Regions from separate parts of the Homo sapiens genome. Here regions 1 and 3 are each linked to region 2. Evidence: promoter capture Hi-C in 16 types of primary human blood cells and fetal thymus (Javierre and others, 2016). All regions are on one chromosome and are shown on one strand. Each heading gives the region's core, a stretch centred on a gene start or on the middle of the fragment in contact. The rest is flanking DNA. Distances are from core to core; before and after follow the strand shown. Region 1 overlaps LHFPL3 (LHFPL tetraspan subfamily member 3). Region 2 holds the start of LHFPL3 (LHFPL tetraspan subfamily member 3). Region 3 overlaps LHFPL3 (LHFPL tetraspan subfamily member 3).

The links. The method cuts DNA at HindIII sites, captures the fragments that hold promoters and counts their contacts. A CHiCAGO score of 5 or more calls a contact.
Region 1: a contact is called between a fragment that was not itself captured here and the fragment with the promoter of LHFPL3 in region 2, in 1 of 17 cell types (M2 macrophages). The highest score is 5.5, in M2 macrophages.
Region 3: a fragment that was not itself captured here is called in contact with the fragment with the promoter of LHFPL3 in region 2 in 1 of 17 cell types (endothelial precursors); the score reaches 5.0 in endothelial precursors.

Annotation. Positions count from the first base shown.
Region 1 is chr7:104,718,709-104,723,025 of GRCh38, forward strand. All of the region lies in intron 1 of LHFPL3 (LHFPL tetraspan subfamily member 3), which reads left to right. Among named protein-coding and RNA genes, the nearest start is that of LHFPL3-AS1, 83 kb to the right of the region's middle. The HindIII fragment of the contact is 4,162 bases long and covers 451-4,317 here.
Region 2 is chr7:104,326,176-104,330,459 of GRCh38, forward strand. LHFPL3 (LHFPL tetraspan subfamily member 3) reads left to right here and starts at 2,428. Exons shown (of 3, transcript NM_199000.3): 1 at 2,428-3,049. The coding sequence starts at 2,605. The HindIII fragment of the contact is 14,292 bases long and covers 1-4,284 here.
Region 3 is chr7:104,836,453-104,840,778 of GRCh38, forward strand. The region is part of intron 2 of LHFPL3 (LHFPL tetraspan subfamily member 3); the gene reads left to right. Among named protein-coding and RNA genes, the nearest start is that of LHFPL3-AS1, 35 kb to the left of the region's middle. The HindIII fragment of the contact is 5,511 bases long and covers 1-4,326 here.

The DNA.
Region 1 (4,317 bases), core at 1,282-3,781, 390 kb after region 2:
GTATATGGAACACCAAGTGCATACAAATTTATTATCAAAATGAATAAGCTAAATAGTAGGTAACCACTCAATAATCTGGACCCAGGCTCCCTGTTTTACAAATAAAGTAACTATGGCACAAAGTGGTAGTCTAGAGGCACACAGAACTGCTAGCAGGATAACCACTGGTCTGTGTTACCTTGCTTTGGGTGTCACCCTGGCTGAAGCAGGTTTTGCTGGGAGAATGGTGATCCTGTTCATATGGAGAATTATGCTCTTTTCTTCTCTTAAGATCCTGCGGCAAAAATGCTGTTTAGATTTTAGCTTGTGAAAATGTTGCCTAAGTCAAGTCCTCTCCTGCAAATTACAGATGTGTTTGTGACCTGCCAGCATGTTCAGTTGGTATTTATTAAAATTTTTATTAAAACAATGTGTTTACTGAAATCCAAAGAAGTTACTTTCAAAAAATAAAGCTTTACAAAAACTTAAATAGAACCTAATTGATTCATATCTTTATTTATAAGAAGGAGAAATTATTATACATACAAGTAGCCATATATATAAATTAATAAAGTACACATGTACACATACACATGTATATATATAATCTTTGAAAGGAATATATACCTTTTAAGAACATATAAAAATGTTTAGCTAACATAAAGCCAACTTAAAATATCGAGGCAAAAAAATCAAGCCAAAAAAGGGGGATGAGTATTCTTGTACAAGTGTGTATGGAACAAACTGTATGTGTATATGAAACCAACTATACAAATGTTTATACATGAATTTATGCAATAAAAGCTCATTAATTCCCATTCCACACATTTAGCATTTATAATTATTCTAAAGTTCTTGGCACTACGTGTAAAATGAAATTCTAATTAGGTGAAATTCTAGTGTAAATAAAAGAAATATTTATACATATAAAAACCAACAGTTTTTAAGCGTCATTTTATTAGTAGTTCTTGTACTCAAAAAATGTCTAGTTATAAGTAACATGTTAAGCAATGCCAAGATTCTATAAGTGTTCTTAGTGCTAAAACCAATATTCGAAAGTGATTTCACATGCGTTGTTACTGTTCATATGTAGAGGATAATAAAAGCATAGATTCCAAAAGCATAGACTGCCTAGGTTCAAATCCTGATTCTGCCATTTGTGGACCGTGTATGACCTCGAGCAAGTATTTGACATTTGTATGCCTCTGTTCCCTCACATGTAAAAAAATAATAATAATGTCAAGGTTGGTCGAGAAATAACAAATGGCAGCCTCCTATTTCCGAACCTGACCTCCAAACCAACTGAGAGCGATGGAGGAAGATGGGAACCAAAATAGCCCCTTTATTACAAAAAAGCCTAGGCAGAAGAACATGGCTCTGGCTCTATTAGCCAAAAGGACTTACTAGTCTGCACTCTTAGAATGAGACATACTGAATCTTCCTAATCTCAGCAGGCCTGCCTTCTACAGTAACCAAAACAGCATGGTACTGGTACCAAAACAGATATATAGACCAATGGAACAGAACAGAGGCTTCAGAAATAACACCACACATCTACAACCATCTGATCTTTGACAAACCTGACAGAAATGAGAAATGGGGAAAGGATTCCCTATTTAATAAATGGTGCTGGGAAAACTGGCTAGCCATATGTAGAAAGCTGAAACTGAATCCCTTCCTTATACCTTATACAAAAATTAATTCAAGATGGATTAAAGACTTACATGTTAGACCTAAAACCATAAAAACCCTAGAAGAAAACCTAGGCAATACAATTCAGGACGTAGGCATGGGCAAGGACTTCATGACTAAAACACCAAAAGCAATGGCAACAAAAACCGAAATTGACAAATGGGATCTAATTAAACTAAAGAGCTTCTGCACAGCAAAAGAAACTACCATCAGAGTGAACAGTCAACCTACAGAATGGGAGAAAAATTTTGCAATCTACTCATCTGACAAAGGGCTAATATACAGAATCTACAATGAACTCCAAAAAATTTACAAGAAAAAAAACACCCCATCAAAAAGTGGGCGAAGGATATGAGCAGACACTTCTCAAAAGAAGACATCTATGCAGCCAACAGACACATGAAAAAATGCTCATCATCACTGGTCATCAGAGAAATGCAAATCAAAACCACAATGAGATACCATCTTACGCCAGTTAGAATGGCGATCATTAAAAAGTCAGGAAACAACAGATGCTGGAGAGGATGTGGAGAAATAGGAATGCTTTTACACTGTTGGTGGGAGTGTAAATTAGTTCAACCATTGAGGAAGACAGTGTGACGATTCCTCAAAGATCTAGAACTAGAATTACCATTTGACCTAGCAATCCCATTACTGGTTATATACCCAAAGGATTATAAATCATGCTACTATAAAGACACATGCACATGTATATTTATTGTGGCACTATTCACAATAGGAAAGACTTGGAACCAACCCAAATGTCCATCAGTGATAGACTGGATTAAGAAAATGTGGCACATATACAGCATAGAATACTATGCAGCCATAAAAAAGGATGAGTTCATGTCTCTTGCAGGGACATGGATGAAGCTGAAAACCATCATTCTCAGCAAACTATCACAAGGACAGAAAACCAAACACCGCATGCTCTCCCTCATAGGTGGGAACTGAACAATGAGATCACTTGGACACAGGGCAGGGAATATCACACACTGGGGCCTGTCGGGGAGTGGGGGAGCTAGGGGAGGGATAGCATTAGGAGAAATACCTGATGTAAATGATGAGTTGATGGGTGCACCAAACCAACATGGCACATGTATACCTGTGTATCAAACCTGCACGTTGTGCACATGTACCCTAGAACTTAAAGTATAATTAAAAAAAAAAATCAGGCCAGCCTGATGTAGGATGTATAGCATGGAGGAGTAGAACACATGCTTTGCGTGGACAAACTACTCCTAAGGTAGGGAAAGGAAAGTGTTGGAAAGGTATTCCCAGTTCCTCTTCCCCAGACACTCATCAGGTAACTCATTCCACTGCCATGGAAAGGAATGAGAAGTGGAATAAGGGGCCAAGAGTATTTAAGGAAAAATTCCTCTTTGCAGAAACTGAAGGTGTCAGGAAGAAGTGTTCTCATGTTTCTCTTAGCTTTATTGGAGAATCAAATGAGATGATGCCTGTAAAGTGTGCCCCATACATGGTAAATGTTCAATAAATATTAGCTATTATTATGATGTGTATTATTATTATTAACTATACCATTAGCAGGATTTCAATGAATGTGACTGGACCCTTGGTATGTATCAGAAGCCATCTAGTGGTGCTCTAGAGATCAGAACTGCTTTTAATTTTTCAAGTTCTAAATTCTGATTTTCATTTTATTTGGGTATTAACCCTTAAAATTTGGGTAAATTAGCAAGTGATGTTATTTATTTTTCTGAAACATATTTCAATATGTTGCCTTTTGTCTGGCAACATATTCTATAAAAGGTGTTTCTCCATCAACTAGATAGTTCATACATGCAGGTGTGGACGGACTCCAGATCATCTGCTTACAGCCGAGGTCCAAGGTTTCACAGCTGATACCGCACAATGTGTGGATGTATATACAGATCCTTTTAGTTGAACAAACTGGAGCTACGTATTTTGGCACAGCAGAGAGGCTTTTCTCATCATCAGACACAACATTCTAACTCTTCTCTTTTAAGAGCCCTGTGTTTATATTTTCTTTTCTCCTCTATCTCCCTAAGGGATGTTACATATTTTGTGTTACGACCCCAAGTTAAATGCCCATAAAATTACACTGTGTTTAAAGCCAAAATTTACCAGGACACAATGTGTTTTCTTCACCACACTCTAAACCACAGTATTTCATGTCCTAGATTGTCCAGTGACTCTGTTTTCAGAAGAGACCAAGGTGTAAATATTATACTTTTTCTAGAGGTATAAATATTATAGCTCAAGTTTGTCAGCCACGTGCCAATAAAGAAGTGATAGGAATGAGCCTTCTATCTCTTTTACCAGGTGTTAAGAGTGACAATCCTTGTGTGAAAGTTCCCCCTCCATAGCCTGGCAGTGTCTGCTGGCATCAATTTCTTCAACTACTGTATGCCTGAATAATTGACAGAGCTAAGCGGATGCAGGTTCCTTTTTTTCACCAAGTTCCCCTTGAGTGCTTCAGCAACATGAGGCAATTTATCAGTTTTTTTGTGCAACAGTGCATAGACTTTTTAAAGAATGAATTTAGACTTTCTCCTTCTGTTAAAAAAATAAGTAGTTCTCAGGTTCACAACGTTAAAAGCCCCAAATGGGATAGTCAGACCAGCAGTATCAGCAGGCCCACGTAACCCAAGTCATAGGCCC
Region 2 (4,284 bases), core at 1,178-3,677:
TGAACCCAGAGGTGATTCCAAACCTGGAATGAGAATAAGGCTTTCCTTGGGCATGACTCAAGTAGAAAAGCTCTTTGAATCACATTTGAATCTGAGTCACCCACCAGTCTTTTCTTTGTCCCATAAAGGCAATTCAAGCATTGAGGTATAAACCAGGCTTTTTGATTCTCAGCCTTCCCTTCTCAGCCACCTCACATCTCAACCACCCCATGGAAACAGTAAGATTTCTTTCAGGCATTTATTTTAAAGAGAGACTACTTCATACAACCAGGTTTGGGGGATTTGAGGGCTTAAGAGAGTTACTAGAAATTACTGTCAGTTCTTGCTGTAAAGCTATCTCTGCCCCTGGGACGCATGGCCTGCCAAATGGCCTCATAAATCTGATTATTCTCCTTTCCTTTTTCTCTTTCCATGTTAAAATTCTTCTGATTTACCAGCAACTTCAGGAGAGTTAAAACAAATGAAACCTAACAGAAATTCTGACCCTCCACTGCCACCAATGCACTCAAGATGCATCATCATGAACTGTATTTTTAGAGACTTGCAAGTGTTATATTGGGCTAACTCATATTTTGGTCATCTTTGTCACCTCCTCCAAATCCCTCTGATATTTATTTTGAAGACCTTCTGAGAGTCTACAACCACACTTGCTAGAAATTCTTACTCACTTAATCTTACATGTCTCATGCTACTGTTTAATTCTGTTCTCTTGATTTTCAAAGCTCTGTCTGATGGACCTTGTATTACAATGGACCTTGTATAAGATGGACCTTGTCTGATGGACATGTATTACAATACATGAATTACATGCCTATAGAAAAAACTGAATGGAAGATTCTGAAAACTCATGCTTTTAGATGCTTTCCCCAGTTTCAGCAGCAGCCCCTTCATTATCTTATGTGTCTCACACCCCTATTCCACTTTCTCCCCCTCCCTCTTCATAGAATCTCAAATCTTCAGACTATCAAATGAAAAGCATAATTTTCATCACTTAGGTTATGACCCTTCTACCATAGAATAGCCGTTGATATAGCCAATTAGGTAAGACTTAGGGTCCAATTCTATCAGAATTCTCTCTGATAGAAATGCTCAGAAAATTCTGTGATCATATGGTTCAAAACGATTTGTTACCAAAATCCACTCCTACAATTAAGCATTCTGGTTTCATGGCTGGGGGTGGGAGGCAGTTACATGTTTCTTTATATCAGAATCAGAAGGAAACAAACAAAAAAACCAACGGAAATAGGGAAATGCAGTTTGAAAAGTAGAAACTGTTAAAAGAGCAACAGAAAGACTGTTAAAAGGGAAAACATAAGCTAAGGAAACAGCACGAAGGGCAGGTGTACAACAGCAATGCCATGTGAAAATGTAAGGAATTCTATAGTGGTAATTCCGGGATAAATTAGCCTGAAAACAGCTCTCTGGTTAGCTTTGGGTTGTAGGGGGAGATGGAAGTTCCTGGACAATTAACCATCTGCTATGTCTTTTTGTACCCTTACCACCCAGCTCAGCGTCTGGGCACAGAGTAGCTGTCAATATTTGTATAGTAAGTGTAACACTGGCCGAACTACCCTGTTTTCAAACAAACTATAAAATTCTGTGACACAGTCCCTTCCAAGCACACACAGGCCCAATCTATGGAAGGAATTATCGGGGAAACGACCTAAAGGAAAGTATGGGGCATCCATTGGCTACAGTTCAGCTGGCTGCTTGGGGGAAAAACGCAAAGAGGACGCAAGCTCAGCTGTGCTTGATGTGAGACCACCCTTGAGATTTGTCTTTTACATTATTGTCTGCCAGGCTCCTGCGCAACTTCTATCTCCACCTGTGGACCTGAAGGCAACCGAGGAGTTAGCCAGGGGCAGTTCTGTGGTAACAAGAAAGACTCTTGGGGGCTGTATGCCTCCACTGCCTTGGCGCCTCTTGCCTGCAATTGCCGCGCTGCCCCTCGTGCCTCTGCAAAGATGCAGAGGTCGAAGCACGTTTCTGTGCGGTGATGAAATGCTCGCTGAATCAGCCTCTCGAGCCCGGCCTCTCACACCCACCAGGATCCTGGGGTTGTCTCTAGGATCCCTGTGGGTGCTCCTGCCACCTTCTTAGACTACCCTCGCCCTCCTAATCCAGGCCCACTTCTCTGGCTCATGTCCACCCCTTGATGGGCGTTCCGGGGTCGTCACTGTCCTCTGCGCCCCTGGGCACTGGCAGCGCGGGCCGGGCAGCGGGGAGGGAGGCGGGAAGCAGAGCGGGAGGCGCCCCGGGCTTGCGCGCCGCGGTGCTCCACGAGGGATTTGCCGCCTTCAGCTGCAGCAGCTGCAGCGGCGGCGGCGGGAAGAGGGGTGGAGGGTGGTGAGGAGGGCCGGAGCCCGGGCCAGGAGGGAGGGAGGGGAGCCGGGAGGCTGTGCCAGGCGAGCCGGAGGGGTGCTCCGCGCTCCCCCGCCCTCCTTCCGGGAGCGAGGATGCAGACTCTGAAACTGGTGCTGCTGGGCTGAGGCGGAGGCAGGGGAGTTGCAGCGCGCGAGGCTCCGTGAGTGTGTCTCCTGCGCGCTGAGAGGCGGGGGGAGGCGGAGGACCAGGAGGAGGAGGAGGAGGAGGAGGAGGGGGAGAATGCCCGGAGCCGCCGCCGCTGCCGCCGCCGCCGCCGCCGCGATGCTCCCGGCTCAGGAGGCTGCCAAGCTGTACCACACCAACTATGTGCGGAACTCGCGGGCCATCGGCGTGCTGTGGGCCATCTTCACCATCTGCTTTGCCATCGTCAACGTGGTGTGCTTCATCCAGCCCTACTGGATAGGCGACGGCGTGGACACCCCGCAAGCCGGCTATTTCGGGCTCTTCCACTACTGCATCGGCAACGGCTTCTCCCGGGAGCTGACCTGCAGGGGCAGCTTCACGGACTTCTCCACGCTGCCCTCGGGCGCCTTCAAAGCCGCCTCCTTCTTTATCGGCCTCTCCATGATGCTCATCATTGCCTGCATCATTTGCTTTACCCTCTTCTTCTTCTGCAACACGGCCACTGTGTACAAGATATGTGCCTGGATGCAGCTCACCTCCGGTGAGTGCGCGCTCACCTCCGCGGAGGCGGAGGACCCCGGGGCGCCCGAGCCGGGGAGGGGCCAGAGTGGGAGGGACGGGGGCTGTGCGCGCCGCTGCGAGCCAAGCCGCCTAATCCGCTCAGGCGTCGAGGTGTGGGGGGCGGGAGCCCAGCGAGGCCGGAACCCCCGGGGTTCCCCAGCCCCGGCGCTGGCGCCTCGTCCCGGGGCTTTCGTGAGCCTCCCAAGTGTGGGGGACGCCCACTCAGAGGGACGCCCCGGAGGCAGGGCGGTTGTGGGGCCGAGTCCGCTCAGAACTAAGGATGGTGGGTGGAGAAGTGGCCGCTTAGAGAGATGGGGCCGGGGTTCCGTGCTGAGGGACTAAGGAGGGACTGACAGGGCGAAGTGAAAAGCGGATTTGGAGAGGTCATAGTGGAAGGAGCAGCCAGCCTGCCCTGCCCCTCGCTGCTGGGACTATTTCTGTCATTGATCCTGGGAAAGGGGGCGGGGGGCGGTGGCTGGAGTGATACTGTTTCTTTCCATCCCGGGCAGTTAAATATGTTTACTCCTCCATCCGGAGGTGAAGAGATCTTAATTCTGTTTTGGGTTTCCCCTTGTAAGAAGAATGTAGCTTAGAACATTCTTTCGCAATTCCTCAATGTCAAGTCTTCAGTTTGCCTCCTTGTCCGTGCAAAGTTCCTTCCATTTCATCTTTAAACAGAAGTCTTTAGTAAATCAAGATTCCTCAAGATCTCATTTTTGGGAAGTGGCTTTGGGGAAGTAGGCAGAGAGGAGAATGTTTCATTAGCATCTCCGATCACTCTTTCCCTGTGGATGATAAATTGTTGCTAGCTGGAGGATATGAAAGTACTTTTTTTCTGTGCATCAAAGTTACTTTTAACCCAGAAAGGATGGGGTACATTTCCTGGTGACTTTGAAGAGTCCTGAAACAAAACTGACTCCTTGCTGTACTTCCCCTGATGGCGATTGCCTCTCTGCCAGCCAGCTTGGATGCCCTCCCTTCTAAAGTCAAGGGTCCAGTGGTCGTGACACATTTCTGTTCCAACATTGTTGAGGTCCTTTTGATTTTATGGATGGTCTGGTTGTAGAAGGGCACTGAATATCTTAGGCAGCTAAAGTTTTCATTTGCGTTTTCTTTTACTGTTCTCATTTTTAAGATGTTTCAAGATTTTGTCGTTTATTCTATTCCTGGGAAGGTTTTCTGGGGAGAGGGATTCAATCCCTGACAGAGTGTTGT
Region 3 (4,326 bases), core at 482-2,981, 510 kb after region 2:
AAGCTAGCCCACGCAGCCACGCAGGAAGAACTACCAAGATGCCATCAAACTCTCATCTAAAAAGCCTACTGTTCTTTTACCATTTGTGCTCTTAGGAAGTAACAGGATGAAAGCAGTGATGGAAGCAAAAGTTGACCATCTGCCCTGAGAATTGAAGTCCAGGAAAGATCATATCAGGGCTACGGTGCCATGAAGGTTGGGTCCTACATTCTGGCACTCTGTTTTTTATAAGTTCACTATGCTCTGCTACCCATTCTGATATTCCAGAGCTGAAGGATTTACCCCTGCTGAGCAGAGATGAGCCAGGTTAACTTTTGGGGTGTACAACAAACTGGATCTCAAGAATATTTGACTATTTTGGTTTGTTAGTCTACACAGAGTTGCTCCTAGGAGCCATGGCTTGTAGGATGTCAGTTTATCTCTGACGACAAATGAAAATTACACCCAGTCTTGTATCTGGGTTCTGAAGCTAATGAAAATGTGTTTGAAGATAATCCCACGGCCAGATAATAGTAAGATGAGGATCTTTTCTAATATTTCATGGTGATGAAGATCTCCGTTCCATTAGGAAATATTCAGTGTGTGCACAATGAACATTGGGCAGGGAATCAGAAACCCTGAGATCTGGCTTCATATCTGCCACCGATGGGTTGTGTTTAAAGTTTGGCAAGGTACTTCGATTTTGCAACTTAGTCTACTTGTCTCTAAAGGAAGGAACTTGGATGACTTCATCCTGGATCACTCTCAGCTCTCATGTTTGATTGTCCATGTGCCATTACCCTGATTCCCTGCTGGCCACATTTGTGGAATGGCTGGGCTAAGAGCAGAGACGTCTGATCTACCCTAGAGCTGATTGGACCACACAGGGATCATACCTACACCTTTGACTTCTTTAGCACCTTTTCATTATCAATTGAACCAGCCATCTGCAATGAGGAGGAGTGTAGCTTAAGTAGGTTTATCTTCCGCACTAAACTATATACCCTTTAATGCTATAGTCACGAAATTGTACTAAATCTTCCCTGTGTATTTTATATTATTCAATCCTCATTAATAATCCCATAAAGTAAGTGCTAACATTATCCCCAATTTAATGCAAGAAACTGAGCCTTGAGGAGGTTGAGTAGTTCACCTGAGGACACACAGCTAGAAAGCACCAACTTTATTTTTTTTTATTTTTATTTCCATAGGTTATTGAGGAACAGGTGGTGTTTGGTTACATGAGTAAGTTCTTTAGTGGTGATTTGTGAGATTTTGGTGCACCCATCACCTGGGCAGTATACACTGCACCCTATAGAAAGTGCCAACTTTAAACTCAGTCTAACTCAAAGCCCACACAGGAATTTAGCTGCCACATTCCAGTGCCATTGCTTACTTATTTTACCATATTCCACAATACTTATCACGGTGTTTGATAGACATTATTAGACGTTCAATAAGTGATTCTTGAACGAATAAATGTTTAATGCTAGCATGCCTTCAATATAACCTTCAGAAACTATATAAACATGTTATATTAACAAACAATTATAACCTTGTTAACCAGAAGTCTTACCCACTCTACTTAGACTTAGTATGGAATTGCTCATGAAACCAGCTCCAGTAATCAGAGCTTAACCTACATAAGGACTTACGGGTATAACTTACCTCAATGACCCTGGCCATCCTGCAATTAGCCATCCTTTTGGTTCTCAACTGGAGGGATACGGCTGGTAAAGATATATGAGAACCATTTGAGGAACTTTTTCAAAAGACAGAAGTCCTTTGTGCCACACCTGCCCTCTCTAACTAATTCTAATCTATCTGGGGAGGGAGGAAATGGCTAGTTCTGTGCAAGTTCTCAGGTGTTTCTGATACATTTTGCTGTGTACTTCCATCTCTGCTCCTAACCCTACATATACACCTCCATTGAGAAGAGCTACCACTGTAGTGAAAGTCAGCTCTATCTCCATTTAAATGAAGTCTGATTTCATTAGAATCTAAATTAAGTGATAAGGCTGTATGTGGCTGACTTGAGTATAAAGACACCCAGAATTCCAACTGTATTGTTTATTAATTATTTTACAGATGAGTTTTGACTGTAGCTGACATATTTATGTTTCATTGTATCTTTTCCAGAATCTGACTTGTAGAACAAAGTACAGAGCTTGCTTTCAAATTTGACTAAAGCATAATAGGTGTTATAAAGCAGCACCGTCTTGCAAAACAGTGACGGAAATGTTCTTTATCTGCTCTGTCCAATTTCATACCATAGACACATGTGGCTTTTGAGTGCTTGAAATGTGTCTAGTGAAATTGAGGAACTGAATTTTTGTGTTTTATTTTAATTAATTTAAATAACCACATGTGTCTAGGGACTGCTGTGTTGGAATGTGCAAGTACAGAGAAACATTGCTTCATCTTTTTAACCAAAATAATGTAGTTAATACCAGAACTCATTTCATGTTTTTAAAAGTCACTTTTAATAATGTCTAAAGCAAAAACTGAAACAATGCTGTAAGAGCCCAGAATAAATTCTAGCATGCTTACATTTCCACCAGGGAATGAATTCTTAAAGAAAGAGAATATTCTGACCCCAGAGTAGATGAAAGCAGGTAGGCAGAGAAGAGACACTCCCAAGGGGAGCTCCCTGCAGGTTCCTAGTAGGCTGTGAGACACAGAACAGTGAGACCGTCAAGGAGAGAGAAATTTCCCCTCAGAGGAAAATCTAAATGTGGTTTTAGCCACCTGTCACCCCAGAGGGAGGACAGGATAGCAGTGTTAAATTGGTAAGATTGTAAAACAGGGAGCTTAACTAACCTTCAAGGCCAGCTAAGGTGTATAAAGTGCATTTCAGCCAATGGAACTCCATTCCTGAGATCCTGAGGGTTTCCACCTATATGGCAGATTGGAAACCTGAATTTCTTTTATATTATAAAATTAATAATTTGGGGGCCAAGCGTGGTGGCTCATGCCTGTAATCTCAGCATATTCGGAGGCCGAGGCAGGCAGATCACTTGAGGTCAGGAGTTCGAGACCAGCCTGGCCAATATGGCAAAACCCCCCTCTCTACTAGAAATACAAAAAATTAACCAGGCAAGGTGGCAAACACCTGTAATCCCAGCTACTTGGGAGGCTGAGGCACAAGAGTCATTTGAATCCAGGAAGTGGAGGTTCCAGTGAGCCAAGATCGTGCCACTGCACTCTAGCCTGGGCAACAGAGCAAGACTCTACCTTAAAAAAAGAAAAAAAAGAAAGAAAAAAAATTAAATTAACATTTCTGGCTGTCCACAGAGGCTCGCACCTGTAACACTTGCTTGTGAAGATATTAAGTCTCTCTGCACTCAGAGGGTAGGTTGGCTATATTACTCATATTACCTGATGGGTGTATTGCTTAGAAAACTTTGTTTTTCTATTGAAAATGGGAAGCAGTATGGTGGGGTGGTCCTGGATCATGAGTCAGGAGGTCTACCACTAAGTCTGTCCCTAACAGGCTCTCACTTGTCCTCTGAGTTTTTGTTTCCTAATCTCAAAATGAAGCAAGTTGACTGGATAATTAATATTATTAATTGATCATTAAAATTATACATATTAAGATTAATTGACAATTATAATCAATAATTATTAAGTATAATTATTAATGATGTTAATATTATCATTATTATCCAGTCAGTTTGCTTCATTTTATAGATTAGGAAACAAATCTATAACATTTGGACTGGAAAAATTACCAAGTTCACATCCAGCCCTAAACTTCTTTGACTCTAACACTAAATTACAATACTATCTTGTATTCCTTCTCTGAAAGACTTCTCAATTAAAAATCATTTTCTTGAAGATTCTCATTTCTTTTTTCTGTCTTTTCTTGTGGGTTTTCTTTTTTTTTTTTTTTTTCTCCTTTTGAGACAAGGTCTCACTCTGTCACCGAGGCTGGAGTGCAGCGGCACAATCGCGACTATTACACCCTCAGGTTCAAGCCTCAGCCTCAGCCTCCGGAGTAGCTGGGACTACTGGCACATGCCACCATGCTAATTTTCTTTTCCTTTTTTTTTTTTTTTTTTTTTTTTTTTTTGTAGAGACCAGGGCCTTGTTGCCTAGGCTGGTCTTGAACTCCTGAGCTCAAGTGATCCTCCTACCTCAGCCTCCTGAAGTACTGGGATTACGGGCAGGAGCTACCACTCCCAGGTTCTTTCATTTCTGTCCTTTTTATTGCTACCCTCCCCCCACTGAACACCAAATATCCAGAAGGTGATGCATTTGAAGGAAAATCAGTCAATACTCAGCATTCCACCTATTATCTACTACTACCTAGGAAGTGGGAAATTAAACTATAGAACCCAAATTCCC